Linked DNA regions of Homo sapiens: all the other regions are linked to region 5. The links are contacts of gene promoters, found by promoter capture Hi-C in blood cells and fetal thymus (Javierre and others, 2016). All regions are on one chromosome and are shown on one strand. The core of a region is centred on a gene start or on the middle of the fragment in contact, and the rest is flanking DNA. Distances in the headings are between cores, read along the strand shown.

Region 1 (4,414 bases), core at 450-2,949, 410 kb before region 5:
TGTCATTTTTATAAAGAGGTAAAATACATGACGACAACAGCAAAAAGGAAGAGAGGGAGAAACAGGAGACTGCTGTTACAAGGTTCTTACCATATATGTGAAATGGTACATTCTTATGTGGAGATATACAGTGATAATTTAAAGATGCAAATTGTAAAGTCTGGAACATCAGTCAGGTCATAAAAGCAAGGCCTCAGTATTTGCTGTAATATAAATTTAAACTCTGCACACGTGTGTGCATGCATACACACACACACATAGACCTAGGTGAAAACACAGGGATATAATCAGCTCCAACATGTAAACATTAATAATAAGAGAGCTGTAGCAGCTATATTAATACCAAGCAAAAGCTTAAATATGCACTATAAAATTTATTTTAAAAAAATACTAAACAAAGAAGATACTAGAATAGAAAATATTACCAGGGATGAAAGGGAACATTTCATAATGATATAATAAAGATATCAAATCATCAAGATGTATCAAGCATAAATGAATGTTCACCCAACAACACAAATATAGACAACCGATTTTTGACAAAGTTGCAAAGTTAGTTCAATAGAAAAAGAAGTCTTTTCAACAAAGTTAGAACCATTACTAGAAGGAAACATAAGAGAAAAATTATGATGCATATACAACACCAAAAACATGATGCATAAAAGAAAAAAAATAACAGTAGGTTGGACTTTGTCAAAAGACATCAAATTACATGCTAAAATTAGTGCATTTTAATGCAGGCAGTGATATCTAAAGTTAATGTGTATGACAGTCTAGGTGCAAACAAGACAAATATGAAAGTCTACTAAATAATAGGAGAGGTCATAATGAAACTCCAAAACATTCATTAGCTACCTAAGTAAGAATAGGAAAGAATGAGAAAAAGCAATTTTGGCTACCATTATCAGGATGAGTTACATGAAAGATTTAGTCAGAAAGGAGAAGATATTCCCCATGAGAAAACAGCAAAACTAAAGGAGGAAACCCCTGCAGAAAGTTTGTGCAAAGAGACTTGAGTTCTAGTTTTTGTTCAGTAATGAGCAAAGCTTAATAGCTTTGCCACTTGATCTCACTTTCCTAAAAATAAAACAAAACAGAACACATAACATTCTAAAACTAGTCTCCAGGGCAAGGTTGACTTATACCTCTGCAAGAAATGACAATATCCCGGGTATAAAATGTTCTAACATGTCTGTTCAGTGTTCTTACACCCATGAAGCTGACATCAATGTCCTAAAATGGGAAACCATCTAAGACAAAGAATAACTTGATAAGGGTCATGGGAATCGTTCATATGTGACAGGATACTGTGACAGAATAAAGAATGCATTTTAGATTGTTCCATGGAGGTTCTATTCAAAAAATAAAAATGTTTTAAAGCCTCATTGAATCGTGAAATGAATTGGATATTGAAACCCGATTACCTGATTTCAATCCTGGATCCTATGTGTCTATTTCTTAGTTTCTCTAATTTTAATCACCTTCTATGGGCTGGGTCTTTTTTTGTTGTTGTTCTTAATATAATTAGACTCATAAACTAGGAGAGATGAATTAAATCGTAGAGAAAGTGGGAATTAGACAATTGTCATCATCTTTTCCAGTGCTAGGATAGCTAATAATTCATTCATTTCTCTTGATATTCAGTGTCGCCCTTTCATTGCTAATAATTTTTCCATATCCTTAGTAATTCAGACTAATACAACAACATCTTTGCAAGTTTTCTAACCTTACATTCTTCCACTTTAAGGCATCCTACATACTACTGATATAGTCATTTTTAAAGCAACAAAATTATGCCTGCTAGGTCCCACATAAAAAATTTTATCAGATTTTTATTTTTTGACAAACCAAAACCAGAAACTAAAAACTAGACTTTTAAAAAAATCAAAGACAAAATTGTTTAAACATAGCAACAGCATAGCAGGGAATCTAAAACATTCCCAAGGCAATCAGAGAGAAGCCTGTAGCTCCAGGATCAGGTGACAGCTTAGAAACTTTTCTGATTTAGAGTTATAATAGTCTTTTAATGTCTTGCTTTGAGGCATCAGATACAAATAACCCCCATATGCACACATACATACACACACACTGTGACATACATAGTATTAATAGATGGCATCTTTAAAAGTAAAGAGATATAAATACGATTTAAAATACAATAAATATAATCATGACAACAAATTGAATAAACATTTAAGATGGTAGGCAGGGCTGCATCCATGTCTGCTGAGGTCAATTCTAGGTCTGAAGGCAGGAGAAGCTGCCAGAAATTCATTTTCTATGGATAACAGTACTAAAATTGCAGTGAGAATCAGGCCCAGTGTTTAATACTAGGGACTGAAGTAAAGCTTCCTTCTTCATAAGAAGTTGCTAAACCAACTGGCCATATTATTTCTAGGCTATGGCATAAGTAAATCTACGTCTATAAACTAGAAGAAGCAGAAGTAACTTCACAACATACACCTGAGCCAACCTACCCACTGGTTCAGTGCCTAGGTCTACAATACTGTTATCACTTTCAGATGGGGCATGAAGCTGGCAATCAAAACGTAACTTCTAAGACCAACAGAGACATGAGAATGAGCTCAAAGAAAAAGGGAGAGGGAAGAACAAACTTTAAGACAACATAGTCCCGCACTCACCCGTATCTCAAAACATGTGATGAAAACTAATGCTAAGAAAGCCAACAAAATTAACAATGAGAAGACTCGCTCCTCTCAAATGGACAAGAAATGTCAATCAGAGTGTAGGGTCCTCAAATAGCTATTTTTTAAATTTAAGCAACAAATTATAAAATGAAAATAGGCAAAATAAAACAAGTGTGTATGTAAATAAAACAAATTAAAATATTTAAATAAAATAGTCATTAAATCTGGGAGAGAAAGGGAAAGGGAGAGCAATTGCTAATGGATACGAGGTTTTTTTGATGGATAATAAAAATATTCTAAAATTATATTATGATGATGCTTGCACAAGCCTGTAAATGAGCTAAAAATGATTAAATCATAAATATTTAAGTGAGCTTTATGAGTTGAAAATTATATCTCAATGAAGCTCTAAAAAAATCATTAAAACTTAAAAGTTTCAATAGAAAAGTCAAACTATAAATCCAACACAAAAGAATTATCATATTTCATCAATTCTAACTTGTACATATTCTTCAATATTTTAACATCCCTGAAATCAGGAAGCATCTCATAACCAATGATGACTATAATCACTATCACCTAGGCAGCTCTTATGGTGAAATTGTCACTGTCTCACATCTCACATGTGTGAACTTGCTTATATCTATGCCATTATTTATGTGATCCGTTAGTCCCACACATACTTGATATAATTGCGTCTAAAATATCTTCAAAATATTACACTTATTGTTATTTTGTTCTTAGAGTCACTGAAAAAACAGCAGGGAGTAAATTTGATATTAATAAAGCAAATAACATTGTAGGAAGAAAAGCCACAATTCAATATTTTCTTGCAAAGCAAAACAAAATCCTTTCAGAATTCTAAGTGAGGAAAATGCCCATATATAAGAATCTTCATTTCATTCTGATTGCAGGAAAAAACAAGATAAAATGCAAATCCCAGGAAGAGGCATATTTGCTGCAAAGTTAATAAAATTTAAGCTTTAAGACATCTCATTTGTGCAGACTTCTAAGACCCTGTCCTTACTACAAAGGATCACTCCATATTATGAAACTGTAAGCCCTACAAAACCAGAATCCATCCCTGTCCTCAGAATGGGTGAAAACAATTTTTCTTAGTTGGCTGGTGTGACAGATTTGTGTTGAGCAGGGCTGTTATAAATGTGGCAAAAATCAATATCTCAGAAATATACACTTAATCTCTCATATCATGTAGTTCAATTGGAGGAAAAGTACAATTATACATTTTATTAATTTCTTTTTTTTTGTGATGGAGTTTCACTCTTATTGCCTAGGCTAGAGTGCAATGGTGCGATCTCGGCTAACTGCAACATCCGCCTGCCGTGTTCAAGCGATTCTCCTGCCTCAGCCTCCCAAGTAGCTGGGATTACAGGCGCTAGCCATCACACCCAGCTAACTTTTGTATTTTTAGTAGACATGGGATTTCACCATATTAGTCAGGCTGGTCTCGAACTCCTGACCTCAGGTGATCTGCCTGCCTCGGCCTCCCAAAGTGCTGGGATTACAGGCATGAGGCACCATGCTTGTCCTAATTTTTAAAAAATTGATAAAATCCCATTTCCTTCAACATGGCTCAAAATTATACTGCCAAAGCTAAAGGTGCTAATGAGATCAGGTTCAATAAGCAGTGTATCACTGTGATTCCATTCGTAATTGATGGTCAAAAGTTGTTACTATACTTAATTTTAAAAAGAAAAACAGTTCCTAAGAATGAGAACTTCCCCCCAAAGATGTAATTGTATATG
Region 2 (4,407 bases), core at 1,464-3,963, 430 kb before region 5:
CAGTTACGTGTTCACTCTTTGGACCAGTCATTCTGGCAAGAGAATGTGGTGATAAGAATGCACATAACTTACCAAGACCCAGATGTCTCACATAAAACAGCTACTGCAGTGCACAACAATCTGTAACATGTTGAGGACTTCTGTGTTAATGTCATGAGAGGCGGTGCATGATAATATAGGGAAGTAATTAGGAGAGTCCATTGTTTCATGGAGATAGTCAGGTTTGGATGAGCAACAGGGAAGCTTAATAGTGTGATAGTATTTTAACATATATGGTTAGGTAAAACTCAGTTCTTAGGTATCAAGTGGGTTAATAATAGTTCAGATATTCTCTCAAGAGGTGAAATGTAGCTGCCTCCTCATCTGTCACTGTAGATGTGTTCCCCTCCTATGCAGCAATAACCTCTTTACCTAATGCCCCTTGTATCTGCCTTCCCTGCTTTTTTAAACAGTTTTCCTTGATCCAGGGAAGGAAATGTAAGTCATAAAATTATTCTAATTTCTTACTCTCTTATCTTTTTTTTCTTTTTTTGGCTGGGACAGAGTCTTACTCTATCACCCAGGCTGGAGTACTGTGGCACAATCTCAGCTCACTGCAAATTCAACCTCCCAGGGTTCAAGTGATTCTCCCACCTCAGCCTCCAGAGTGGCTGGGACTAAAGACACATGTCACCAAGTATTTTTGTAGAGACAGAGTTTCACCATGTTGCCCAATCTAGTCTTGAACTCCTGGGCTCAAATTATCCTCCCACCTAGGCCTCCTAGTGCTGAGATTACAGGCGTGAGCTACTGCACCCAGTCATATTCTCAAATCTTTTAAACCAAAATTTATTCTCTTAGAACACAGCACTCCTGAAAATACAAGTAGCATATGAAGTAATGAAAATACAAGTAGCATACATCAATTATGAAAAATCATCAAGTCCTTGTTTAGTCATTTTTATAGCTGAGTATCCTTTATTTATGCCTGGGTGATCTAAAAAGCTCATTGTTATCTATTTCTTTTATTTTTTCAGCTCTAAAATGTTTTAATGGAATATATAATTCAAAGGGGAATTATCTCTCCTAATTTAGAAAGTACTTGGAATTTATTTTTAGCAACAGTCACCCAAAACATAAGATTTAACTTCTTATCCAAAGACAAATTTCTGAAGAACTGCTACATCTATATTAAGTCACAAACTGAGGTGTATACAAGCTATTACCTGCTTAGTAGATTACTATTGTTTCTTGCTATACTCCAAATGTTCGTGTCCTTCTAAAATTCATGTATTGAAATCCAATCCCCAATGTGATAGTATTAAGTGGTGGGACATTTGGAAGGTGAGTAGATCATAGGGATAGGGCCCTTGTAAATAGGATTAGTGCCTCTGTAAACTCTTGAGATCTTTACAACCAATCAAATGGATATATCAAATAAGTTTTTGAACACAAGAATTTACAATTCAAATAAGAAAATTTAACTAGAATAGCTATAATCTGTTCATGTATAGCCACACTGATATTTTTTGGAATTATAAAATTAATTAGATTAGGCCGGGCACGGTGGCTCACGCCTGTAATCCCAGCACTTTTGGAGGCCAAGGCAGGCAGATGACGAGGTCAGGAGATAGAAACCATCCTGGCTAACATGGTGAAACCCCATCTCTACTAAAAAAAAAAAAAAATACAAAAAAATTAGCTGGGCGTGGTGGCAGGCACCTGTAGTCCCAGCTACTGGGGAGGCTAAGGAAGGAGAATCACTTGAACCCTGGAGGCAGAGCTTGCAGTGAACTGAGATCGTGCCACTGCACTCCAGTCTGGGCGACAGAGCAGGACTCCATCTCAAAAAAAAAATTAATTAGATTAGGAGACAAATTAGAGAGAAGAAAGAAGATATATGGATACCCTGAAGAACTTCAGTAGCTGGAGATTAGTAAGAAGAGGAACATCTAGGACAAGAGATTGAGACAGAGAAGCAAAAGAGATGGGTAAAAAACCAAGGTCATAGTTTCAAGGGAAGCAAATGTTTCCAGAACAGAGTGAGCCAATGATGGCCGAAGTACATCCACTGATTATTCCAATGTAGATGTCATTATGGGCCTTGGCAAGGGAAATATTGGGAGCAGAATCCAAGAGTGGATTAACAGATAAAGGAAAAGCAAGACAATCACAGCAGTGTAAATTTTGAGAAATTTGCCTTTGAAGGGAACAGAAAATGGGAAGTACTTGGAGAGGGCTAAGGAATCATGAGAGGTGCTTTCTTAAAGAAAAACATATGAATATTTTTATTGAAATAATTCATTAAAATATATAAATTATAAGTATTACATGAAGCAAGATACTTCATGTTATAAACTGTTCAGGAAAATTTTCTGGGTGGTAGAGTAAAAATATATCTAAAATATCTTATTAAAATCTTCCACACATCCAGATGAGGCAAATATGGACTCAATATTTTGTTTCCATAATCTTTTCTTCATTAACACTCTCATGATTTTTTTTTACCATAATTTCTCACCTGGATTACTGCATGCTATGGTTTGAATGTGCCTTCTCCAAAATTCAGGTGTTGCTAATGTGAAAGTATTAAGAAGTGGGGACCGTAAGAGTTGATTAGGCCTTGAGGGTTCCTTCCTCAGGAATGAGATTAAAGATCTTATAAAAGAAAGAGACTTTATACAATGTTCAGCTAGCTTGCTCTTCCACCTTCCATCATGCGAGGTCACAGCAACAAGGCACCTTGGAAGCAGAGAGCAGCTCTCACCAGACAACTGAATTTGTTGGCACCTTGATCTTGAACTCTGCAGACTCCAACATGGTGGGAAAATAGTTTTCTGCTCTTTATGAACTACTCACTTTCAGGTATTTTCTAAGACACTACATTAGTGTCTAATTGCCTCCAGCCTCTTGCTTCTTTGCTATCAATAATTTTTCAAAATCACAAATATGATGTCTCTTATTTAAAGTGTTCACTTTATCTTTTCGGGATAAAGGGTGAACTCCTTCCTCCAGCTCTTTATAATCAGCCTCAATCTCCTAAATATCTTCTCTCACTTCATTAATCATGCACCATTTTTCCAAACTACAATAATGTATTCAATATATCCTGACTCTTTCCTTCATACTTTTGCATATTCTTAGAATACACATTTGCTTAAAATGTTCTTTGCAACAATCTTCAAACTCAAACCACACTCCTAAATACATACACCCTCAAACATAAAATCCCCTTTTATAACTAGTTAACTTACAGTCATCTTTCAACCCTCAACTTAGATTTCACTTCTTCTGATAAGTTGTCTTAACCCACAAATTTGTTTTAGAGGCTGTCTTCATAAAGTTCATTTTACCATAATAGCACTTATCCCACTGTATCATGTCATTTATTTTTTTATCAGAATTGAAAGAAACTAGAAGTCTTTGAGGCAAGTGTAATAGTTCATGGACCTTGTAGCTCCAGAACATACTGCAATGGCTGGCAATTGTGCTGAACATGAGATATAGCAAAATACCTGGAAGAAACTTGGAAAGAGTGTTGGAGAGAGAAAGGAAAAGATTTACAATTTATAGAAGTTTCCCAAGTGAACTTCAATTCTAATATGCTCACCTGTTTGAGAACTACTGGTCTTGGTGAACATCTATTCCTGGGAAGCAAAAGGAAAAAAATACTTCATTATTTTGTTTATGAGCCTGAAATCATACCCAATTAAAATAATACTTTGTTTTTCTTAACATAGCGTCTGCTAAGAATTGCAGATGTCAAATTTTGGCACATTTGCAATAAACTTACTAAACAGAAATTTAAAATTCATTACTTGAATCAGATAGGAGATTGGAAGAAAATAAAAAGTAACATTAATGATAACCATATTTTCTTCAAAATAAATTCCATGGTTTTTAAAAACAAAAACAAAAAAAAACAAGAAAAAAAAACGTTATTCTATATGGTTTGGCTAATCCAGCTAGAATTGTGACTGCAAGTTTTGAAGTGGTATATTTTTACTGTTAAAGAAAAAAAAAGTCTACGGCCGGGCGCAGTGGCTCGCACCTGTAATTCCAGCACTTTGGGAGGCTGAGGCGGTCAGATCACGCGGTCGGGAGATCGAGACCATCCTGGCTAACGCGGTGAAACCCCATCTCTACTAAAATACAAAACAATTAGCCAGGCGTGGTGGTGGGCACCTGTAGTCCCAGGTACTCGGGAGGCTGAGGCAGGAGAATGGCGTGAACCCGGGAGGCGGAACTTGCAGTGAGCCGAGATCGCGCCACTGCACTCCAGCCTGGGAGACAGAGTGAGACTCCATCTCAAAAAAAAAAAAAAAAAAAAAAAAAGTCTACAGCCTTCAACCATTAAATAATACAGGAAAAAACTAGAGAAATTCTTTTGCACAATTTTATATATACATTTTCAAAACTGATTTGGCT
Region 3 (4,449 bases), core at 848-3,347, 380 kb before region 5:
GTCTCTGTCTTGAATGACTTGAAACCTGATCGCTGTCTTTATCTTCCAAGGAAAATGCATGGGAACCGGCAATATGACCCCAGTCCACAGTACATTACCAACAACTCTCTTCTACAGACTGTGTACTAAACAAACATATGTTACACTCATTTTTTAAGAGATTCTTAGGTACTCTATTATCTGCGTAATTAATTGTACAGAGAATGTTTGGTCCACTGATGTTTTACTGATTATTTATAATAATTTATAATAAATATAAACATGTATACATTTATATTTTTATATAAATACTATATTTATAATTATATACATAATTTATAAACACAAAAAGCCAGAAACATGATTCAATATGTCTTTAATCACTGACCCACTTTTCTTAACGTGGGCATTATACTAAAGGTTACATGGGATTTCAAGGAGGATCTTCAGACAGCGTGGAAACTGGATAGAAGCAGTCGCTTGAATGATTCCAACATTCTTCAATAAGATACTATCAGATATTTTTGTAAAATAGAGCTGGCGCCTCCGTTTTTAGATCTTGATGTCTGTGTACAAGATGTCTAAACTTTTCCGGGAAAAAAAAAAAAAAAAACAAAAACAAAAAACTATACAACATCTGGAGAAAAACTTGGAAAAGCATGATACAAAACTAAAATTCCACCAGGGAATATGTGAAAAAAACACAAGAAGTTATCTACTTCAAAGTCTCTTCCTGTTTCTTACAGTTGGTGATCTTTGAAGCTGCCTGCAAATGAACACATCATGCACATAAGTCAATTTCTTCTTAAGGCAACCAGTTTCCATTAAACCTCAATTGAACAAGAATCCTTGCCAATTCATTGTTTGGCAATGAAGGGAATGATTGTGGTGAAAATCACAGGATATTAAAACAGAAGTTATTTTCAGCAAAATCTAGACTGGCACTTATTTTTAACCCTTATACCTAGAAAATAATATGAGATCAAAGTTTACAATGTATTAAGCAAAGCCTACATAAAAGTTATTGATGATTGATGTTTTACTGCTATAGGTGACCCCATAGAGATACATTTCTTAAAATTCTTAGAGTTTAGTTACAGGATAATAATATCAATGAGTTTGGAGAAATAGGCTTCAATTCCTGCTTTCTGAATTGTTATTCACAACTATCCTCAACTACAGAATTATGTACTGTGATGGAGGAAATTGTAACAAGATGGAAAAATAAAACAAAGTCCCTTTCAGAGAAAGCCTTGTGCATATTTAGAGGAAAGATTTCGAAGCTAAAATAAACCAATTATGATGAAAAGGACTTCCTGACTAACAAAAGGCTGTGAAGAAATTGCCCTGTATATGAAAAGATGGAGGATTTGAGGTTCTGAGGAAAAATAAGAATGACAAAATAAAGGATCCAGTAAGAAGGGATACAGAGTGACCAAAGGGAGGATAACGAAAACCAGCAGTTTTGTTATGATGGCAGTGAGAACTTGCAGAAAATAAAAATATTTAATGAGGACAAGGTTTTGTGGTACATGGTTTCACCCTCTCTCTTTCTCCTACAGAATCTTCATTTAAATCTGTATCATTTTTGGTTTAGTGCTTTGTTTGAGCAAATTTAAAGTGAAAAGACATGAAAATGTTCCTATCCAGCTATACAAAAAGGAAAAATCCACCCCAGTAAATGCAGAAGCCACGGGTTAATAGTAAAAAGCTTTAATCTGGGTCACAGTGAAATGAATCTGATCAATCATCATAACATTACCTTCCCTTTGATACATTAATTGATCCTCATGGTATAATTTTTCTATAACATATTTATGTTTCTATGTTATCAATATGCCTTTAGGCACACACATATACATGCAATCCACTTTAATTTTTTAACCTTTTTCCTTCTTGTACAATTCAGTAAGACTATAACTAAAACATGGAAGATAATAATATACCTCAAGCCAAGCATACATTTTGTATGAGAAATTGAAATAACTAAGGCAGCACGTTTTAGTCTCAATTATCTGAATTCTTTCTCAATTTTCATTTTATCCTGTAAAAGAAGAAGGGGAACAGACAGAAGACAGTTGTAGACTCTCTGGGGGTACTGATCTCACCTCTTCTTTATTTCCTGGGGAAATGCTGCTTTTGGAAGTGGCTTCCTTTTCAGCATTAATTTCTTATTTATAATGTGCCAATGAGTCTTGTATTACACTTAATATGGGAAAAAATACAAAATAAGCACTGTGCAGAATATTTGGCAAATGAAGCAAAGAAACCATTTTTTTTCTAGTGTCTCAGACAGGAACTGAATGAAAATCACATTCTTTATACTAATAGTCACCAGAGCTTCAAGATGAATAAAGATTTAGGAAAGTAAAAGATCCACAAATAAATAGACACTACATTCATGTAAGAAAACTATTAAGTAACTATCCTGGACTTCCAAATAGCATTCTGCCATAGAAATGTTTAACTTCCTTGATGCTATCACAAGTAAATAAATAAATAAAAATTTTAAAAACACAAGCTTTAAACATAGCTTTCTGAAAATATAAAATGAAAGGAAATAGCAAATTCATTTTCTGATAGACCCAACATAAAAACCAATGAGTATAAAATATGGAACATTTCTACCTATAAATGGAAGTTAATTTGAAATAAAGGTAAAATCAGTTAAAAAGAACAAAATTATTAAAAGTTATGGGAGACATACTTTATTATCAAAAAATGTGTCAAGCTTGAGAGTTTCAATTCATAACACTTGTATTTCAAGTCAATTATGTATTATAATATTTAAAAAGGCCAATGAGACCTTCAGGAGCAGTGAAAAATTACAATGTATGAAAGAAAGAAAATTATTATCCTATGTTATGTTGCTGAACATTGTGTTAATCTTCCCTCATATTAAGATAGCTGTGGGCAAATGGAGATGTAATGAAATGTTAGCAACTAAGATGGTGTGGGACACTACATCACATGAAGGGAAGTTGACAAAATAGGGTGCAGAACCTGGACAGAAGACTTAAGCAAAAGCTGAGGAAAAGAGAGGGTAGTTTTCTCCAAGTGTCAGAAACACTGTTACATGAAAGAGTTACACCTGTTCTTCTTGTCTCTATAAAGGGGATCTGGGATCCACATAAGAATGTTTCAAAAGTCCAAACTGTGTCATCATGGAATGGGTAGTCATGTTAGACCTCTTTTGCTTATAAGTAGTAAAACAAAAAGAGAAAAAAAGAGAAAGGTATTAACCACACAATTGAGAAACCCAAAGGTGGAGCTAGCTCTAGGAACAGAGGATTTAGAGGTTTCAATAGCTGCCATCATGCTGTCCATTTCTGTTTGGTTTTTGTCTTGTGTTTGGTTTCTTTCTCAGGCAGTCTCTTGATACACAAGAGCAAAGAGGGCCTCTGGAAGCACTGGGTTTACCAGAGTTTGCAATCAGAAAAGAAGAAAGTGGCCCTTTCTCCTTCATCTTCCACTTGACAGGTGTGATGGAGAACCATGACTGGTTCCCAAAGTGGTCACTTCTTGGACCAGTGACTGTAGATGGGGGATGGATGCTGTGAAAGGCCTACCCTAGGCTATGCGTCTGCCCCTAAGAGCCCGGCAACCATAACTGACATCAACAGAACCACTCTGAGTAGAAGAGAAGGCAATGAGGAGCTGTGAAGCAAAAACAAACAGGCAAAACTAAACTAAACTAAACTAAAATAAGAAAGGATATGTACCATGGCTGCTTTGGAAGGCAATGAATTTCTCATCACTGAAAATGTTTGAGCAGAGGTCTAATAACAATTTATAGATAGAAGGCCACAGCACCCCTTCTGAACTGTGGGACAAGTTCTCCCTCATTTACTTGTCCAGCACTTACAACACAGCAGGCCATATGAATAGCATGGTGCACAAAGTAGACAAGATCCCTGCTTTGCAGTAGCCTGTAATCTACGGTCTCTAGTCCATAAAAAGAGAATATGCTTGTCACACAATATGAGTGTGATTAAAAGAAAAGATGTATGTGGAAACTGGCCGTTACCGAACACTATATGAATATCAGCTATTAGAGAGCACACTTGCTATGTGAACACTGGCGTGGGTAGAACAAGCTCTAATTCCAACCACACCTCTTTGGGGAAGTTCATTGTGTGAGTTGAGGTAAGTCACTACCTCTTTGTAAAGCTCAATCTTCAAATTCGGAAATGAAATGAAAGTGGGTGTAAACTCACTCATACATTCCCAAAAACCCAAATAAATTTAAATGATGAAATAATGGAACATTGCCTCCCGGATCCTAATTCTTAAAGGTTCCTTAATACTACCATTTTATTGTTTGAGTGAGTGCCAATTTTTCCTTTAAAATCTGTCTATTCAATGAAGGCAGCCTAAGATATAAGAATTCACAATTAATCTGTGGAATTCCATGATTCATTTTGAGTGAAAAAAAGTGGTCAAAGTGGACAGCTAATCTTTTTTATTGTT
Region 4 (4,776 bases), core at 1,885-4,384, 310 kb before region 5:
TCAGGATTTAAACTGAAAACAATATCCAGCTTTTGACCATTAGTCAGTTTACAGTAAGAATTCCTCTGTGTAGTATAGTTGTACTTAGGATCACACTGACTGGGGAAGAAATGCATTGTTTCCTGTGCCATTCAAAAGAAGGAAGGGAAACTAAACATGCTGATAATCTACTTTGAGCCACTCACCTTGCTACATGCTTTAACATATGATCTTATCTGTTTCTCAGCTCAATTTTAAGAAGGAGGTATATTTATTTTATTTTTTAAACTAATTGTCAGTTAAGTAACAGGCTCAAGCCCATACGTCCAATTAGACGTAGAACCATAATTCCTACTAAGATTTATTAGAAACCCATGCCCTCGAAGTAGCTCAAGAGGTGCCCATGCTTTTAACTATTATGAACCAGTAAAATATTAAAAGAAAAACAGTTAACTAACTTACATGAAGTATAAATTTCTATTTTGTCATCTTAGGACATATAAAAACAAACAAAAACAGGAAAGAAGCAGAAAGAAAAAAGGAGAAGGAGATAGAGAAGAAAAAGGAGAAGGAGAAGGATGAGAAAAGGGAGGAGGAAAAGAAGAAAATACACACAAGCACCCTCCCATGTACTGTAACCTTCATTTCATAAAAGGAATCATATATCGTACCAAACACTAAAAAGATCAGAATCTCTGTATAAAGGACAGTTCTTAACATTAACTAGTTTCTCTGTATAAGACGTTTTTTTTTCACTCAGGACCTTGAAGCATTTAAGAGTTTCTTCTGGCACCAAATGCAGGAGGCACTCTGCTGTTCATTCATACCCTGCACACCAAACAAGTAGCGTTGCCTGGAAGTCACTCTCCAGAATGCAGGCATCTAGGATGAAAGCACTCTACCACATCTTCCACAGACGTTCCTCCTCCTTGTCAAGGTGAAAATGAATCATTTACAATATTTCCTTACTGTTTTTTAAGTTCAATTCAATCTTCAGCTATTTCCCCTGTTTCTAGTTTAAATTGTTACTTCCATCAAAATAAAATGCCTTCTCAGATATCTTATTGGTATGCACCAAAAAAAAAAAAATGAAAAAAAGGATTTGTGCCACATACCTCAAATAAATACATCTTGGTCATTGATTTGGGAGAATAAAGTATTCTCTTTTGTTTTAATGAAATAAACTAATCTCATCCACGTTGACTGGCGAGTGCTTTCTATGTGCCTTGAAAAATACAATGTGTAGATTCGTCTGTTTTTGTGCTAAAGAGTTTATATTAACTCCTATATTGTTATATTACAGGAAAAAACGGTTTTTATTACTAATCATAGGGTTTACAGGAAGGGATATATGTGTTATGAATCTCCACACATGTTGAAAATAGATACATAAAGTGTTTACTTTGAAGACAGGATGCACTGATTCACTTAGCCGGAAGTTGTAATTGGCATGGTTCGTTGTATGTATTAGTTTGTGAAACATAGTGCATAGTATTGGCTAAGACCATTACCCTGTCTGAAAACTAATCTTGATGGACAAGTATTTAGCAATTCTGTGTAGCTTAAACATATTGAGTTTTCAGAGCAGATAATTCCCATAGAATTCTCTCACTTCTAGGGATTTGAAAATATTCACCAAGTGATTTTTGTTTTTCTTTAATAAAAGTGTGTGTGTATGTACATACACACACACACACATATATACACACACACACACATCTGTCTAACTGTGATAGATTACACTGTTCTCTAAAGTTCTGGATGGAACAATTCTCTGCAGTCAAGTCCTAACACTTAACAAGCAAAAAGTTAATACTTGAAGCTGTTTCCCATTTATGTAGTTAAATAAATGGGCTTACTTGGTCCAGAAGGAAGCTAAACAGTATTCAAGGGTTATAAATGTGATTCTTGCCTCATTTAGTTTGAAAAACCACCTAATAAAAATTGAGAAAATAATAATCTCAGATTTATTTCCACATGCCAAGTTGAATACAGAAACTCATAGAAAACTACTTCTAGAAATAAGTATTACCAACGACGTAATTAAATAAAACATTATTTATTATTATTTAGGTTTAGAATGAAGCTCATAACTGGGCCCTTAACTCATACACAACTCAAGTCATTTGTTACACTGGGATTTCTTTTTTTTACAAGTGTCATTGTCAAAGATAACAAGGGGAATTAAGATCCAAATATGTTATTTTAAATAATTTGTTCTTTTTTTCTGTTGGCAAACATTAACATATGTTGAAAGATACTCTTGAGAAAGCTTCCAAAGGAATGTTTACACAGACATTAAAATCATAAAGGCTGTCATTATGGGCAATTTATTGAACTCTGTGACATGAAGATGTGTAAAAGACAGCATACCAGAGACATTTGATTCCACAGTTTTTTTTAAATCTAGCTTCAGGAAGAAAAAATGGAGTACATTTATTTTATTGAATATATGTCCTGGCTCTTCTTGTAAAATATTAAAAGAGTAATTCAGTTTTTACATGTTGGAAATCAGAAAGTATTATTACTCCCATCATACTTCAATATCCCTTTCCTACCCTTGTCCCATCCCCATTCTTCAGAGTAACAGAAACCACCAGCAAAAAGCCTTCCTGGAAAGGTGAGATGTTCCTTAATATATATTCAGTCTATGACCTCTTAGCAAGGTCTTTAATCATTGGTGGAACCTCCAGTAGCATGCTGCCATATTTTATGTTTCTCAAAGTGCCAGAGCACTTAAAAGGTAAGCAAAAGTAGAACTAGAATCCCTAAACTTTTTGTGTTCTATTTCATACAGATAAAATAATGCTTCTGGGCTGGGTATAGTGCTGTGAGCCTGTAGTCAACTCAGGAAGCTGAAGTGGGAGGATTACTTGAGCTCAAGAGTTTGAGTCTAGCCTGGGAAACATAGCAAGACCTCATCTCTAAAACAATTTTAAAACATAATAATGCTTTTATTGTTGCATGCTAAAAATTAAATGATCACCAAGCTCTACTGTTTCTTGGTATAACTAGTGTAGATAGTGACAGTAAAAGCAATTACAACATTCTGCCCTGCTCTAAAGCTATGAAGTTTGGGCAAGTTATATTAAATGCTCTGTACACTCTTATGTTTAACACTCTTCACATATGCCTCATGCAGCTCCAAGGATGTTTTTGAAATGAGTGATAGTGTCACTTTCATACCTAACATGACAGATTTCCCCAATCTCAGGTATCCTCAAACTAGTGAATATTTGTCTACTCATTATCACCCCATTGTCCTTTGTTGTTTTCCTACCTGACATCACAGAAGGCAGTGTGTAGAGGACTCAGAAAGGGTTATGTATGATTCAGCCCACCCTAGCTGTAGTCCTGGCTGTCATTAACTATCATAAGGACCTGCTGTTGTAGGTTGGGTTACCTGGGAAGTAAACTCTGAGACAGATATTTGTGTGCTAGGGGAGGTTTGCCACATTTAGCAAACAAAAATTCAGGATGCCTGGTTAAATTTGAATTTCAGATAAACAATAAATTTTTTTAGTATATTTTATGTCCCATGTCATATTTGGGACATGCTTCTACTAAAAATTATTTGTTTGAAATTCTAATTTAATTGTGTTTTACGTGGCACTCTACTTGGAAGTACTTTCAGGATCAACTACCATGGGAAGTGAAGAAACACTCCACAGAAAAGGAAGTTGCAATTACAGCAAAGGTCTCACTAGGCCCATTCTAGAGGGAGCTCTGGAGATACATGACCCTTCAGAATCATCCCCCATTTGGGAAGGGAGGAGCCAGGCCTTTGGACCCCTTCACAACAGTCATTGAATGCAGTTTGTCCCAGAAGGGGGCATGACCTCATCCAGGTGGCTCTTTTCAGCCAAGGAAACTCTCCGCCAGAATCAGCTGAGAGCAGTTGTCCTATTCAGGGGAAGGAGGGAACCTAACTGGCACATCGCAGCCTTCACTACAGTTACCCAGTCTCATCCACTCACTAAAAAAAAGAAAAAAAAAGAAAGTAGATTCGATGATGGAATGTCTGGACACGAAGCTTCAAAGGGAAGGATTCTGTGAAACTGGTTTTCCATTGTAGCAGTCATTCTTTAAAATGCTTTAGGCCAGGCATGGTGACTCATGCCTGTAATCCCAGCACTTTGGGAGGCTGAGGCGGGTGGATCACTTGAGGTCAGGAGTTCGAGACCATCCTGGCCAACATAGTGAAACCCCATCTCTACTAAAAATACAAAAAATTAACCGGGCTTGGTGGCAAGCACCTATAATTCCAGCTACTCGGGAGGCTGAGGCAGGAGAATCACTTGAACCTGGGAGGCAGAGGTTGCAGTAAGGCAGAGGTTGCAGTGAGCTAAGATTGTGCTATTGCACTCCAGCCTGGGCAACAAGAGCAAAACTCCGTCTCAATAATAATAATAATAATAATAATAAAATGCTTTGCATCATAGACCCCTTGAAACTTAGTCCCCTTCCCAGAATAATGTTTTCAAATTAAAAAATAAAATACATAAGATTAAAATGAGAAGCATTTATGATAAAGCTATCAATATTTTTAACAATTACATTTGTGATACAATAAAATACAGTCTCCTTTATTAATACATTAAATAAAGGGATCTAGCAGGTCTAATAAATACCATAATTTCAAAGCACTGATGAATATAAATCATTTTTCAAGCTAGCTTCAACAGCAGTGATATTAAATGAAATCTGTGTTTTATACCAGTAACCAGTCACAGATGCTAAATTATGGTTAGAGACAAATAAAAATAAAGATATTTTTTCCCATCCAAGATTCTAAAC
Region 5 (4,949 bases), core at 1,385-3,884:
AGGCTAAATCATAGCTTTAAAATGCATTGGTAAAATACTTTATACAATTAAAGAAAAGAAACAGAACTAATATATTCCCAACAGTGAAGCCACCCAGCGTTCAGGAGCCTCTGGCTGTTGATGTCTATGTAGGGGTTAAAAGTACTGGCTTTGGAGGCAGGCTATCCTGGATTTCCATTCTGAATCCATCATTACCTACCTATGCCACCTTTGGTGAGTCACTCATGCCTGCAAATAGGAGGCATTCAATAACTATTTGTTGAATGAATGAATAAATAAAGAATGCATCAACCCCACACACTGTCCACAAAACTTTATGAAATACAGTAGTTCAATTTACTTCCATTTTAAAAACTATTTGTTGCACATCTTTTATGGAAAAATTTTGGACAAAAGGGTAGGAGGGGATGCAAGAGTTTAAGCAAAGTGTTGTTTGGGTTTAAAAAGAGTATTTATATTTGGTTGAGGAGATTGGAAAAGGTTTCATGGAGCAAACAGCATTTAAGGAAGAGCCCTGAGATTATTAGGATTAGACCTGGGCGATGGGAAAGATAAAGCAGGCTGGAAGCATTTCAGGCTGAGGAAACAACACCATAAGCCAAGACCCAAAGATGAAAAAATGCAGGGAGTATGTGTTCGGGGAAAAATCCGCAGTCCCACCGGCTTGTGGTAAGAGAATTCATGGGAGACTGGATTGGAAGCTATTCAGGGTCATATCATCACTTCAGTTACTGATCCTCCCCATTCTGGAGATGCTCACAACTTCCCTGTAAGTGAAGGTTCACCCAACCACCATTATAAGTTACACTTGACCTTCTTTATAGACAGTGCCTTTATTTAACTGGTACAAAAAAGTATGGGACTTAGTAAACAATAAATAAACTATAATTAAACTATTCTAGTTCCAGAATTGAAAGGGGATTTTTTGATTCAAGCTTTTGTCCATGTATGGGTTATCTGTAACTTTTTTGAATAGTGACTTCTCTCACATAGAGATTATTTGAATTTCAAGGTTCGTGTTGAAGCCATTGACTGGAAGACTGAACGGGAAGGAAGCATAATGGGCAGTGGGTTAACAACATAAATTTTATTCTTGGTTATTAGAAAGGAAATTGTTCTCCAGGCAAATTTCAACAAAGTTGGATGAGTAAATGAAAGAAATGCCATTCTAGTTGGTACGGTATAAAAAGTAACTACCTTGGGTCAGAATTCAGTTTCAAATTGGCCTCTGACACTTGTCTGTAGTGTGGTCTTGGGCAATTCATCTAACCTCTCTATGCCTTGATTTCCACTTGTATAAAATGAGAAGTACAATCATAATAATAAAATATGCCAGCAGTATACTGTATTACTATCCACCTGAGGTAGGAGTATGTATTTTCACCCCACTGTCTTTGGACCTGGCCATGTGATGTGTTTTGCCCAGTGGAATGTAACATTTGCCACTCCTTTTATTATGAGAACAGCATGCTCCTAAGGAGGCTGCTCTTTCAGCCTGCATTCTAGAACAAAGAGGACACAGGAAGCAGAGATGCAGCTGATCTACAGCTTACATAAAACCTGAATGATAAATAAACTTTGTCATTGTAAGCCACTGAGATTTGCGAGTTGTTCCTGCTGCAAAGCCAAGTAATATACTGCGCTACCCACCTCACATATTTGTCTGAAGTGGACTTTAAAAATGTTTTAAAGCACTTTATAATGTTCTATGCCCGTCTATGTCTCAAACCAGCTCCTTCTCTCGCCATAGATTGATGCAGGTCAGAAAAGTTAACAGCACTAACTTATGTGAGACAGTAAAGTGAGAATACCTGCTTTCAAAGCTGCACCTCTCTCTCCTGCCTTTCTGCCATTGGCCCCCAAATTCGTTGCTACTGCCCCGTTAGGATTATACTCAGTTCCTATCCCATCTCCTCATAAAACAAAATAATCGCACGGGTTTTGTTATTTGTGATGTGAACTTTCATAAAAATATTGAAATGGTACCGCTTTTTCTGCTAGTGCTGGCCCCAGTTCTTCTGAGAAAATGCTCAGAACTGCCGGCTTCTGTTTCTTCTCCATATTTTGGTTAAATTTTACTTGAATCCTTCATTTAGTCAGTTTTGCCAGAACGTCTCTGTGGAATCCTATTTAAATTCAAAGCACTCTATGAAAAAATTTCAAAAGGATCGCTTTAAAAAAAAAAAAAAAGACATTTCAATTTAACTAGCAGTAAGTAACTCTTGTTGACTAAACTCATTAAAGAAGCAACCACTGAGATCACACAGAAAAACCTCAAGAGGTGGCACCCCGACTCGCATTAACCCAGGGAGACATGATGGCTAAGGAAGTAGATGGGACAATGACTGGGCCCGAAAACAAGAAAATCTTTGTTATAAAAGCCTCCCATTTCTGCACGATTAAGTTGAAAGAAGGTGAGCTTCGAGTTAAGCCTAGGCAGTTTTGAATTCCAGCTCGCCCACAATCTCTTGCAACCTTAGGCCGCTTACCTGAGACTCAGCCTTTCTTACCCAACAAATCAGGGAAAATAATAGCTACCTTACAAGACTAGCAAGTTTGTCTTAAATGGAGTGAGATGAGTGGAACACCTAACAGAGGTCTCAGACAATAACAGCTTCTCCAAAAATTCTCGATTTGTGGTTGGCTGAGGTGGAGGAACAAAATGGCGGCGCCGGCGGCGTGACCGGGCCCTCTGGCCCACAGCCGTTGGTAGCGGTGGCAGCAGTACTGCTGCCCCAACTCGCTGTGCCCCCTTTCTCAGCCCACGACATCGCCACGACAGCGAGGCAGCGACCGCCACCGAGAAAGAGGTGGTGGCCCAGCCTGGAACCTTGAGAAACCCTCGCAAACTGTGGCCTGGCGGAAATCCTGGTGTGCTGCAGGGATCAGGCTGACTCCACGCCCTGTAACACCGGGAAACGCCTCGGTGGCCATTTCCAGCAGCCCTCATCCTCAGCCTTGCGGGCCGGTGGGCCCCGGAGGCCTCCATCCTCCCCTAGAGGGGTCAGGGCTGAGCCCAGCCTCCATCTTTGCCTCTCAGGATGACAAACAACAGCGGCTCCAAAGCCGAACTCGTTGTGGGAGGGAAATACAAACTGGTGCGGAAGATCGGGTCTGGCTCCTTTGGAGACGTTTATCTGGGCATCACCACCACCAACGGCGAGGACGTAGCAGTGAAGCTGGAATCTCAGAAGGTCAAGCACCCCCAGTTGCTGTATGAGAGCAAACTCTACACGATTCTTCAAGGTGGGGTTGGCATCCCCCACATGCACTGGTATGGTCAGGAAAAAGACAACAATGTGCTAGTCATGGACCTTCTGGGACCCAGCCTCGAAGACCTCTTTAATTTCTGTTCAAGAAGGTTCACCATGAAAACTGTACTTATGTTAGCCGACCAGATGATCAGCAGAATTGAATACGTGCATACAAAGAATTTTCTACACCGAGACATTAAACCAGATAACTTCCTGATGGGTACTGGGCGTCACTGTAATAAGTTGTTCCTTATTGATTTTGGTTTGGCCAAAAAGTACAGAGACAACAGGACCAGGCAACACATACCGTACAGAGAAGATAAACACCTCATTGGCACTGTCCGATATGCCAGCATCAATGCACATCTTGGTATTGAGCAGAGCCGCCGAGATGACATGGAATCCTTAGGCTACGTTTTCATGTATTTTAATAGAACCAGCCTGCCGTGGCAAGGACTAAGGGCTATGACAAAAAAACAAAAATATGAAAAGATTAGTGAGAAGAAGATGTCCACCCCTGTTGAAGTTTTATGTAAGGGGTTTCCTGCAGAATTCGCCATGTACTTGAACTACTGTCGTGGGCTGCGCTTTGAGGAAGTCCCAGATTACATGTATCTGAGGCAGCTATTCCGCATTCTTTTCAGGACCCTGAACCACCAATATGACTACACATTTGATTGGACGATGTTAAAGCAGAAAGCAGCACAGCAGGCAGCCTCTTCCAGTGGGCAGGGTCAGCAGGCCCAAACCCAGACAGGCAAGCAAACTGAAAAAAACAAGAATAATGTGAAAGATAACTAAGCGTGAATGAGGAACAGAAGAAGCAGAGCAGATGATTCGAGCAGCATTTGTTTCTCCCCACATCTAGAAATTGTAGTTCATATGTACACCAGCTAGTGGCTGTGAACAACCATTTAGTTGGTGTAAAAAACTTTATTTCAATATAAACTGACTCTGGGGAGCGTTGGTGATGCTGTATCCCAAAGTGTAGCCTCTGTAATTGTGAATATTAACTGAGGTAGTGAAACGTGGTGTCTGGTTTTCTATTGCATTTATTCAAGTAGAAAAGTTAACTAAATGGTTGACACACACGAATTGGTGGAGACATTGTCCATATGCCAATTTTTTGTTAAAACCTTTTATTTTGAACTAGACTGCTTTGAGATATCATTTCAGAAGGACAGTATTCAGCCACAGCTGCAAAGGTTGTAAATGCTTATGATTGAGCATTTTTAGGGTTTCTCCATCCCTGGGGTTTGCAAATTGTTCACATAAAGAGCATTCTTAAAATGGTTGGCTTCTTGTCTGTAAGCCAGCTGATCTAGTAGTAACCAAAAATTCCAGTTTTGAGAATAGGAAAGATTCCGCCTGCTTACCTGTGAAGACATAAGAAAATCTTAGTAACTACCAGATTATCTTTAGAATTCCACATTAACTATATCATGTTCTCGGTATTTTAAAAACAACAACAACCATATTTGTCACAGAAATTTAGTTAACATCTTACAACTGAACATGTATGTACATGGCTTAGATAAATGTAATCACCGTAAACACCCATATGATCTGGGATTTTGTTCATATTTTGAAATGGGAGCTTTTATGTTTTACAAGTTCACTAAAATCTGAAAACTGTTTCTATAAGGAAATAATACTTTTTTAAACAACAACCAAAAAATGCCTTGCTGATTCACT
Region 6 (4,876 bases), core at 380-2,879, 480 kb before region 5:
TATAGAGAGAAAGATGAGAGATGAACAATAGAGAATTAAAGAAACATGTAGTAGGAAGACAGAAAAATATTTTCCTTCTGAAATTTATCGTGATTATCAACTCCCACCAAAAAATGGAAGTGGAACTCTCTTATTAGGGAGGAGGAGGATGTCTTATCACACTGACATTGCAGTAAATAGCTTACAATATTAGAAAAGAGTCAGGAATTGATTTACTAGTTTCATGATGGAGATAATAGCAATGATGACATTGTTGTGATGGTGATGGTTTATTTTTCAGCCAAACAAGTTATTGAGCTGGCTGGAAAACAGCAAACCACCTTCACGGATCTTGTGGCCCAATTAGGCTTGGCATCTGCTCTGAGGCCAGATGGAGAATACACTTTGCTGGCACCTGTGAATAATGCATTTTCTGGTATGTGCTGGACACTGTTGTTCCTGCTCTCTGCCTACACACCTTTTTTTCTTTATGATGATTGTTTGCAATAAGAAACAATAAATGTTTTAGGAGGTGTTGATTAGTTTCTGCATTGGCTACACATACAATGTGTTAACACTACATGGTCTCTACTAAAATGTTCTTCATTTCTAAACATTTCATTATAATGGATAATAGCCTACAGAGAGTGAAATTTGTAATTTGTAATTAAGACTATTCAGGCCAGGCGTGGTGGCTCACACCTGTAATCCCAGCACTTCGGGAGGCCAAGACAGGCAGATCACTTGAGATCAGGAGTTTGAGACCAGCCTGGCCAGCATGGTGAGAACCCATCTCTACTAAAAATACAAAAATTAGCCAGGTGTGGTGGTGCACTCCTGTAATCCCAGCTACTCGGGAGGCTGAGGCAGGAGAATTGAACTGAACCCAGGAAGCAGATGGCACCACTGCACTCTAGCCTGGGCGACAGAGTGAGACTCCGTCTCAAAAAAAAAAAAAAAACGAAACTTAAAAAAAAGCATATTTAGTTTCTCTGTGAATCTAATATTTCCAGCACAATAAGGATGCATTGACAGATCTCTAAAAAAATAAAACTGATTTCTTTATTTGATACCAACATAATAATATTTAGAAATAAATAGGTGTGTTTTGCATCTCAAAATTTGGACAGTAAGGGTGTCAAATTATAAATAAATAAAATGAAGAGACTTATACACTTCCATATCATGATGTAAAATAGTATATATAAATATTTCACCTAGTAGTTGCTATTCACAGACCATGTTCAGATTCATGCAACCTTCGACCTTTCTCAGGAAAATGATTTCACAGACATATTTAAATTGTTAGGCAACATTTATTAATTAAAAATAGGTAACACAATTTTTTGTTTTTCCAAATGCTAAATTGTGATATAAAAACTATTAATCAAAAAAATTGAATTCCTAGATATCCTGACTTTCTTCTTTGTAATAATCCTGCCCATGTGTTTTGACAATAACCCATATTTAAGAGGTTGTTTGCTTTGATTCTCTTTCCAGTAATCAAGATTAATTTACAAAGGATTCATCAGTAGTTCTTTCATGTGACTAACAGATATCTAATTATCAGACAAAGCCTTGGCCACCATTAAGGTTTAGCATTTGCCAGTGACCACTATAAAACTATGTAGCCCTTACAGAGGTGAAACTCATTGATTGAACTGGTTGGAACTGTATTATTGTCATTTAATACAATAGGTCACAGAGTTTCTACTTGGTGAATTGAATTGTTAGTTTTTAGCATTTGGTTGATTCATGTATTATATGAGTGCAAAATCCATGATATCAATAATGTCAGGGATTATCTGTTTATATGATTCTGTCTTACCGGGAGAAACTTCAATGTTTTCTAAATAAAATAATGCTCTTTCTTAATGAATTTATTTACAGATGATACTCTCAGCATGGATCAGCGCCTCCTTAAATTAATTCTGCAGAATCACATATTGAAAGTAAAAGTTGGCCTTAATGAGCTTTACAACGGGCAAATACTGGAAACCATCGGAGGCAAACAGCTCAGAGTCTTCGTATATCGTACAGTAAGTGAATCACAACAAAATAAAAAGTCTGTCAAATGACATGTCAAATAATGCTGTTTCAATGAATATTTCACAGAATTTTATGAGTGTGGTTCTAATAGTAAATATTCATAGAAGCATCAGGGAACTGGGTAGCTTGGGTGAAAAGACTGTGAGCAAAGTCCACAACAAGTGCTATGTATTCAAAACTCAGATAGATATTTTGCATGTGTTTCATTATGAATAACTTTCTATTCTAGAGCATCAATTATTTTAAATTCCAGAAAGCAGTAAATTTTTTAAAATAAACTTTTCCTTTGCAGAGTACTTTACAATTTTCAAGGTAATTCTGTTCTCTGCCTACACACCATTTTTCTTTATGATGATTGTTTGCAATAAGAAATAATAAATGTTTTACAAGGTGTTGATTAGTTTCTGCATTGACTACACATACAATGTGTTAGCACTATGCTGTCTCTACTAAAATGTTTTTCATTTCAAAACATTTCATTATAATGAATCAAATATGCAAGGTGATCTTATACTGTAAAATAACCAGTCAGCATCTGAATATCTTTTGAATGGCTTTCAAGATAAACCTTTATTGGCACATAGAGATTTCTGGACTCTAAAAAAGGGTTTTAATGTACTTTTTTTTTTTAAGGGACAGAATTTCACTCTGTCACCCAGGCTGGAGTGCAGTGGCACAATCATAGCTCACTGTAACCTTAAACTCCTTGGCTCCAGGGGACCCTCCCACCTCGGTCTTCTGAGTAGCTAGGACTATAGGTGCACAACATCACCCTAGTTAATTTTTTAATTTAATTTTTCTTGAGACAGGGTCTTGCTACATTTCCCAGGCTGGTCTCAAACTTTCAGCCTCCAGTGAACCTCCTACTTTGGCCTCCCAATGTGCTGGGATTACAGGCATGAGCCGCTGCACCCAGCCCTAACATACATTTTGCTGCAGGAAAATTTATAGAAATATTGCTTATCAAAATTACAGTTCAACTAATGATACGTTCAGTATTTGTCCAGATAACACGTACAGCTACAACTAAAAGACTTCACAGGAAGTCAGGCATTACCTAGAACTGAATCTGGCACATGTCAGCAGCTCCCTGCAGCTACAAAATTCCAAACATTTTTAAGTATGCATTAAATGTGCTGCACTTTAAATTTTGTATATACAAATATATGTGTGTATATATATATCACGTTCGTTCAAAAAGCTATGAATATGTCAATGATTTGACTTACAATGATGAATAGGGTCTTACAGTCAAGAAAATAAAGTAAATATTTGTGAAGATCACTAAAAGCACTAAAGTGAGGAAACCTTACAGATAGTGTTGGCCAAAAGAGGGTCTAGAGAAATAGTTCAAATCTGAATAGAAATTATAAAAAATGTAGAAGTGGGATTCCATGGAACTTTTGTAATTTATTGACAAAATTACCTGCCTGATCCATAAGGTAGCTTGACTTTTAATAAAAAACCCGGCTAGATAAGAAGTGTCTTGTGAGTTTGTGTGAGCCATTGAAAACAGAGGAAAGAAGCTGTTCCCGTGGCCTCAGACACCAGGCAACCTCTCAGAAGGGCCGATCCGGAAACTTAATTATGTAGTTACATCTATACGGGAAATTTCAAGCAAGGAAAATGACACCCCATACCTTTCTTTCCTTTCCTAGGCTGTCTGCATTGAAAATTCATGCATGGAGAAAGGGAGTAAGCAAGGGAGAAACGGTGCGATTCACATATTCCGCGAGATCATCAAGCCAGCAGAGAAATCCCTCCATGAAAAGTTAAAACAAGATAAGCGCTTTAGGTAAGCCTATTAGTGGCACCTCCACAGAGAATGAGAGCTATTGGCATATTTTTGTTTCATAGGCGGTATCCCAAAAGGCATTCAGTCTCCTATGTGGTTGAAAATGGAATTTAGAATAAAATGTTCATACAAGTGTTTTCAAAATTGATATATGTTTTCGCTGCTACTTTCTGGTACACCGTTATATGATTTCATGTGTGAAAACAAATCTAACAGACTAAACTACTTCTTGACATTTTTCTTATAGTTTTTAGAAATTGATGGTATATATAGCAAAGACTATCTTGTAGAGTATTACATGATAAAAATGCTTCTTTTTTGTTATGTGTGACCTTGTCAAGTTTTATAGGATGAAATCAGATGAAAAAAATTAAAAATTGTATTGTATATTTCAGTCATTTTTCATGATAAAACTTTTAACAGGTAAATTGTATTCGAAACATATGAAAATGTATGAGCAGTTCTCTCATGCTTTCCACAATACATGGATTCTATTCTATTACATGCACTGTAGGTGAACATACCTAAATCTAAATCTGACAAAATACATATACATTCTTCCCACTTAGCACCTTCCTCAGCCTACTTGAAGCTGCAGACTTGAAAGAGCTCCTGACACAACCTGGAGACTGGACATTATTTGTGCCAACCAATGATGCTTTTAAGGGAATGACTAGTGAAGAAAAAGAAATTCTGATACGTAAGTGGAAGTGAATTCCAGATATTTTCCCTTTCATTTCAGGATCTCACTTCTTTCTCAAGCTTTCCTGTCCAGATGTCTGCCTTAAAAATGCCCCCTCTCTGGTATTCATGGTTAGCTTTAGTTTCCTTTTATTTCGTCCACTTGGGATGTGTGGAGGGTCACTCAGTAATGTTCTTAAACTGTGAACTGTTATGTTGTTGGGCTAGATGTTCACTTATGTGGTTTCTATTAAAGACCATGTAATCAGGGGACAAAGAAGAAAACAGTTATAATTTAGAAAATAAATAGATTTTTTTCTCCCAGTAAGTTGGGTTCTATTTTGATTAGGCTAATTGAAATAACTATGTTTT

Evidence for each region. Contacts are between HindIII fragments. The CHiCAGO score rates a contact against its expected background, and 5 or more counts as called.
Region 1: a fragment that was not itself captured here is called in contact with the fragment with the promoter of CSNK1A1L in region 5 in 1 of 17 cell types (endothelial precursors); the score reaches 5.1 in endothelial precursors.
Region 2: a fragment that was not itself captured here is called in contact with the fragment with the promoter of CSNK1A1L in region 5 in 1 of 17 cell types (endothelial precursors); the score reaches 5.5 in endothelial precursors.
Region 3: a contact is called between a fragment that was not itself captured here and the fragment with the promoter of CSNK1A1L in region 5, in 1 of 17 cell types (endothelial precursors). The highest score is 6.5, in endothelial precursors.
Region 4: a contact is called between a fragment that was not itself captured here and the fragment with the promoter of CSNK1A1L in region 5, in 1 of 17 cell types (endothelial precursors). The highest score is 5.0, in endothelial precursors.
Region 6: a fragment that was not itself captured here is called in contact with the fragment with the promoter of CSNK1A1L in region 5 in 1 of 17 cell types (endothelial precursors); the score reaches 8.4 in endothelial precursors.

What each region holds. Positions count from the first base shown.
Region 1 is chr13:37,517,698-37,522,111 of GRCh38, reverse strand. No RefSeq gene overlaps it. Among named protein-coding and RNA genes, the nearest start is that of LINC00547, 15 kb to the left of the region's middle. The HindIII fragment of the contact is 1,302 bases long and covers 1,049-2,350 here.
Region 2 is chr13:37,535,034-37,539,440 of GRCh38, reverse strand. It overlaps LINC00547 (long intergenic non-protein coding RNA 547), which reads right to left. Exons shown (of 5, transcript NR_040244.1): 2 at 3,590-3,626. Among named protein-coding and RNA genes, the nearest start is that of LINC00547, 2.3 kb to the right of the region's middle. The HindIII fragment of the contact is 4,935 bases long and covers 246-4,407 here.
Region 3 is chr13:37,486,723-37,491,171 of GRCh38, reverse strand. LOC124903159 (a long non-coding RNA gene) reads right to left here. Exons shown (of 4, transcript XR_007063761.1): 4 at 339-745. Among named protein-coding and RNA genes, the nearest start is that of LINC01048, 4.2 kb to the right of the region's middle. The HindIII fragment of the contact is 810 bases long and covers 1,693-2,502 here.
Region 4 is chr13:37,413,908-37,418,683 of GRCh38, reverse strand. The region is part of intron 2 of LOC124903159 (a long non-coding RNA gene); the gene reads right to left. Among named protein-coding and RNA genes, the nearest start is that of LINC01048, 68 kb to the left of the region's middle. The HindIII fragment of the contact is 1,761 bases long and covers 2,254-4,014 here.
Region 5 is chr13:37,103,349-37,108,297 of GRCh38, reverse strand. CSNK1A1L (casein kinase 1 alpha 1 like) reads left to right here and starts at 2,634. Exons shown (of 1, transcript NM_145203.6): 1 at 2,634-4,949. The coding sequence starts at 3,042. The coding sequence ends at 4,055. The HindIII fragment of the contact is 4,821 bases long and covers 938-4,949 here.
Region 6 is chr13:37,579,508-37,584,383 of GRCh38, reverse strand. POSTN (periostin) reads left to right here. Exons shown (of 23, transcript NM_006475.3): 9 at 281-415; 10 at 1,870-2,018; 11 at 3,687-3,823; 12 at 4,393-4,523. Among named protein-coding and RNA genes, the nearest start is that of POSTN, 17 kb to the left of the region's middle. The HindIII fragment of the contact is 5,917 bases long and covers 1-4,587 here.